Linked DNA regions of Homo sapiens: region 2 is linked to region 1. Evidence: promoter capture Hi-C in 16 types of primary human blood cells and fetal thymus (Javierre and others, 2016). All regions are on one chromosome and are shown on one strand. Each heading gives the region's core, a stretch centred on a gene start or on the middle of the fragment in contact. The rest is flanking DNA. Distances are from core to core; before and after follow the strand shown.

Evidence for each region. Contacts are between HindIII fragments. The CHiCAGO score rates a contact against its expected background, and 5 or more counts as called.
Region 2: a contact is called between a fragment that was not itself captured here and the fragment with the promoter of PPP2R3B in region 1, in 3 of 17 cell types (M0 macrophages, M1 macrophages and erythroblasts). The highest score is 8.8, in M0 macrophages.

What each region holds. Positions count from the first base shown.
Region 1 is chrX:385,462-388,161 of GRCh38, reverse strand. It overlaps PPP2R3B (protein phosphatase 2 regulatory subunit B''beta), which reads left to right and starts at 1,255. Exons shown (of 13, transcript NM_013239.5): 1 at 1,255-1,794. The coding sequence starts at 1,471. The HindIII fragment of the contact is 20,425 bases long and covers 1-2,700 here.
Region 2 is chrX:1,147,177-1,149,876 of GRCh38, reverse strand. No RefSeq gene overlaps it. Among named protein-coding and RNA genes, the nearest start is that of CRLF2, 64 kb to the left of the region's middle. The HindIII fragment of the contact is 6,803 bases long and covers 1-2,700 here.

The DNA.
Region 1 (2,700 bases), core at 6-2,505:
ATGGTGTGATCTCAGCTCACTGCAACCTCCACCTCCTGGGTTCAAGCAATTCTCCCGCCACAGCCTCCCGAGTAGCTGGGACTACAGGCACACGCTACTATGCCCGGCTAATTTTTCTATTTTTAGTAGAGATGGTGGGGGCGGTTTCACTATGCTGGCCAGGCTGGTCTCGAACTCCTGACTTCGTGATCTGCCCGCTTCAGCCTCCCAAAGTGCCGGGATTACAGACTTGAGCCACCGCGCCCGGCCAAGGGTTACTTATTGAGTCTGGCTCGATTTATGCAGCTCAGAAGTAGGAGAACCTGGCTCATAAAAGACCTTGAAATTACTCTCTAACAGGGTGCAACACCAGGTGAAACCCTATTTTGATAAAAAATGAATAAAAAGCGGGGCAAGATGTAAAGGAAACAGGTGCATGTGTGCCAGACAGATGATAATGCAGTGTTTTTATGGATACTGTTAAAAGCAGAAACAAAAACGACCATTGGGTAAAGTTATTTAACTAATGTCACCTCCCTGGACGTGGATGATTTTTGCAATTTTCAACGCACTTCACGCTCATCCCTGAACACCAACGTTTAAAGGGGTCCAACTCCTCCAACCTGTCTCTACTGTTTGATAAGCAAAGCTAAAGTAAACGGGGCCCTTTGGGTCCCAGGTAGCCCGCTGTTATTGAAAAGTTTGATCTTTTCCTCGCGCGCTCCCGTAGGACGCACGCTCGCTCCCGAGCTCGGCGGGCGCGCACCCCGCATGCTCGCTCGTTCCCGGTGCCTCCCACTGCGCAGGCGCACTCCCGTCCTCCAGCCCCACCCGCTCACACACCTCCCAGCCTCTGGCTTGCGCCCCGCGGGCAGCCATTGCGCACGCTCACCCGACCGGCCTCCCGAACTCCGCTCCTCCACCGCTATGCACGGCGCATGCTCCATGCGGAGGTTCCACCCTCTCCTCGCTCTGGCAGGCACGCATTGCGCATGCTCGCATTTCCGCAGCTCTAGGACTGCCACGCCGCCATGGGCCGCGCCTCTAAAAATCCTAAACGCAGAAAGAGCTCGGGCGGTACGGCCGCCACAGCCCCTCCCTCGTCCTCACCGCAGCCGCTCGGCCCCACCAAAGCCTCCTGCAAAAGCTCCGAGGGCCGCGGGGCGCGCGTGGCTAGCGGCGGCGTCGCCTCGTGATGACATCGTCGCGATGACGCGACGCAGTGACGTGAACGCGGGCGCCCTTGTTTGGGAGCGCGGCCGGCGCGCCCGTTTTGAAGCTGCCCTGAGCAGCGCGGGCCGGACCGCGCCCCCTCCTCGGTCCCCGCGCCCCGCGAGTCCGCGCAGTTCCCGAGGCGCGGGCCCTGTTCCCTGCGCCGCGCCCCCTCAGCGGGCCGTGCTCGCATCACCGAGGTCGGTCCGGGGCGGACCGAAGCCCCCGGGGCGGGGCGGGGCGCGGGCGTCCGGGGGCGCCGCGGGCCCAGCCCCCGCCATGCCGCCCGGCAAAGTGCTGCAGCCGGTCCTGAAGATGAAGGTGGACGAGCTGTTCCTGTACTGGCTCAGCGAGGCCAGCACGCAGCGGATGCTGCAGGACTGCCTGCGCCGGATCAAGGCGCCCGGGCGGGACCAGCCGACCCCGGGGGACGGGGAGCAGCCCGGGGCCTGGCCCACAGCCCCGCTCGCCGCCCCCCGGCCCAGCGGGCTCGAACCCCCGGGAACCCCCGGGCCGGGCCCTGCGCTGCCCCTGGGCGCCGCCTCCAGCCCCAGGAACGCGCCCCACGTTCGAGGCACCCGTAGATCCGCAGGGACGAGAGTAGTAAGTTACTCTTCCTTCTGCTAACAACTGCGCAGGTGGCTCTGGTCGCATAGTGGGCGTGTGGCTGCGCGATGGAGGCTGGTGGGCGAGCGTCAGACCCCAAAACGGTTTCATATTGAGTCTGTTCCCCGCCCCGACCCCCCCCACCACACACATACAGACAAGAAAGTCCCACGTACTGAACATTCCGTCATTGACAGTTGTTAACCTAAAAATCACACAATTTATAAAGGTAGAAAGGCTTCCTATTTTATTTTATTTTATTATTTTAATTTGTTTTAATTTTGAGACAGAGTTTTGCTCTGTTGCCCAGGCTGGAGTACGATGGCGCGATCTTGGCTCACTGCAACCTCTGCCTCCCAGGTTCAAGCGATTCTCCTGCCTCAGGCTCCCGAGGAGCTGGGACTTACAGGCACGTGCCACCACGCCTGGCTGATGTTGTATTTTTAGTAGAGACTGGGTTTCCCCCATGTGGGCCAGGCTGGTCTCGAACTCCTGACCTCAAGTGATCCTCCCGCCTTGGCCTCCCAAAGTGCTGGGATTTCAGACGTGAGTCACTGCGCCTGGTCCGTTTTTTATTTATTTTACAATTCTTTGGAGACAGGGTCTTGCTCTGTCTCCTAGGCTGGAGTGCAGTGGCGCAAACACAGTTGGACTTCCTGCCTCAGCCTCCCCAGTAGCTGGGATTACAGGCGTGCACCATCACGCCAGGCTAATTTTTGTTTATTTATTTATTTATTTATTTTTGCAGAGACGAGGTCTTGCTATGTTACCTAGAGTGCTCTGGAATTCCTGGGTCCAAGCAATCCTCCCGCTTCGGCCTCCCAAAATCCCACTGTATTTCTTAGAAGAAACGCCATTTATTTCATAGAAGGTGATTATACACCGCAGGTGAGAAGCGCAGCC
Region 2 (2,700 bases), core at 77-2,576, 760 kb before region 1:
GGAACCCGCCACCACACCCAGCTAATTTTTGTATTTTTAGTAGAGATGGGGTTTCACCATGTTGGTCAGGCTGGTATCGAACTCCTGACCTCAGGTGATCCGCCCGCCTCGGCCTCCCAAAGTGCTGGGATGACAGGCGTGAGCCACCGTGCCCGGCCTATGCATCCATTTTTCTATGTATCTATTTATCTATCTGTTTGTTATCTACTATCTCTCTATCTATATTGATACTGACTCCCAACTGCAGATAATTCTGCTCTAAGGTGCCATCGGGCAGTATTTACGGTCATTTTTCATTTTTTGTTGCCCTCACTGGGGAGTGGGTGGTTTTGGAACCTGGTGGGTGCAGCCCAGGGACACTGCTCAACACCCTCCAGTGCCCAGGATGGCCCCACAGCAAAGAATCTTCCAGCCGCAAATGTCAGCAGTGCTGAGGCCAAGAGCCCCTCTCCAGCTTAGTTTGATCTGAGTACATCTCAGCAACTAGCAATCCTGTCTCCGGGTGAAGTTTCTCTCTGTGTGTAAAGGTAGCTTTGCACCCAGTCTTTAAAGAAGTTTGCTTTAGAACTGAATCTACTACTACAAAAAGAATTATTATTATTATTTTTTGGCTCTTCACCACTGTCATTTAAAAGAATGTTCTGGGCTGGGCATGGTGGCTCACAGCTGTCATCCCAGCACATTGGGAGGCCAAGGTGGGTGGATCACTTGAGGTCGGGAGTTCAAGACCAGCCTGGCCAACATGGCAAAACCTTGTCTCTACTAAAAATACAAAAATTAGCTGGTCATGGTGGCAGGTGCCTGTGACCCCAGCTACTCAGGAGGCTGAGGCAGAACAATCACTTGAACCCGGGAGGTGGAGATTGCAGAGAGTCAAGATTGCGCCACTGCACTCCAGCCTGCGGGACAGAGTGAGACTACATATCAAAATAAGTGAGCAAGTAAATAAATAGATAAAATATGGCCGTGCGCAGTGGCTCACACCCATAATCCCAGCACTTTGGGAGGCCGAGGCGGGCGGATCACCTGAGGTCAGGAGTTCAAGACCAGCCTGGCCAACATGGCAAAACCCCGTCTCTACTAAAAATACAAAAATTAGCCGGGCATGGTGGTGGCAGGTGCCTGTAATCGCAGCTACTCGGGAGGCTGAGGCAGGAGAATCGCTTGAACCCGGGAGGCGGAGCTTGCAGTGAGTCGAGATCGCGCCACTGCACTCCAGCCTGGGCGACAGGAGTGAAACTCCGTCTCAGTAAATAAGTAAATAATAAATAATTAAATAAATAAATAAGCTGCAATAAAATAATAAACTAAAAGCACTTTCTGCCCGGCACCACTGCACTGCAGCCTGGACAACAGAGTGAAACTCCGTCTCAAAAAAATATATATATATATAAAAAAAAATAAGTAAATAAATAAAATAAAATAATAAAAATAAAATAAAAGCACGTTCTGCTTCACACCACTATACTCCAGCCTGGACAACAGAGTGAAACTCCATCTCAGATAAATAAATAAATATATAAAATAAATAAATTAATTAAATAAATAAATAAAATACAATAAAATAATAAAAATAAACTAAAAGCACATTCTGCCCGGCACCACTGCACTCCAGCCTGGACAACAGAGCTAAGCTCCATCTCAGAAAAATAAATAAATGTGTAAAATAAATAAATACAATAAATGAAATAAAATAATAAAAATAAACTAAAAGCACGTTCTGCCCCGCCCCGGCTGCCCCACTGGTCATGTGGGCTTCAGAAACCGTCCCCCTGCAGAAGCATCTTCTGTGTCTTTCCGCCCCCATGAAGCCAGTTGCTCAGAAACGCAGCCGCCGCTGCCCACAGGAGGGAGGGAAGAGGAGGAACGGGCTCGACATGAAAGAGAAGGCCCGTTGGGAAAGGCTGTTTTTGCAGCACTGGTGAAGATAAGCCCCTGGTGTTTGAGTTCCGCTGTGAGAAAGCTGACCGGGCTTTGGAACGTGGGAGGAAGTGTGGTGGCAGGTACGCAAACGCTTCACATTGAAGTTCAAGAAGGGAATCTAGACAAAGAAGCCAGGAGGGCCAGTGTGGACGTTGCTGGGCCCCAGGAAACCAGGAGGCGGTTAGCGTCCACCCAGGAATAATAAAAAAGCAGGATCACGTTGCCTCGTAGACCGTGAGGATGAAGGCAGAGACTCGCAGGCCCCAGAGAGCTGGTGAATGGCGTTGTTCAGAGGTGATCCCCCCGGTGAATTCTCTCCTGAAAGCACTGAACAGACGTGAAGTGAGACAGAGGAATGGCATTGAAGGGGCGTACGTAAGAGGAAGAGAAATGCGGAGTCGGGGCAGGTGCAGCCTGCAGTCTTGGGAGACGGGCAGATTTTGCCTCAGCCACGCTCACAAGAAAGGGAAGTCAGGGGAGGATGGAATGGATCCTGGGACAGAGTGAATGGTGGAGGGATAAATAATGTCACTCCCAAAGATGTCCACGTCCTGATCCCCATGTGATAGACAGAATAATGGCCCCAAAGATGTCCACGTCCTGATCCCCATGTGGGAGACAGAATAATGGCCCCAAAGATGTCCACGTCCTAATCCCCATGTGATAGACAGAATAATGGCCCCAAAGATGTCCACGTCCTAATCCCCATGTGGGAGACAGAATAATGGCCCCAAAGATGTCCACGTCCTAATCCCCATGTGATAGACAGAATAATGT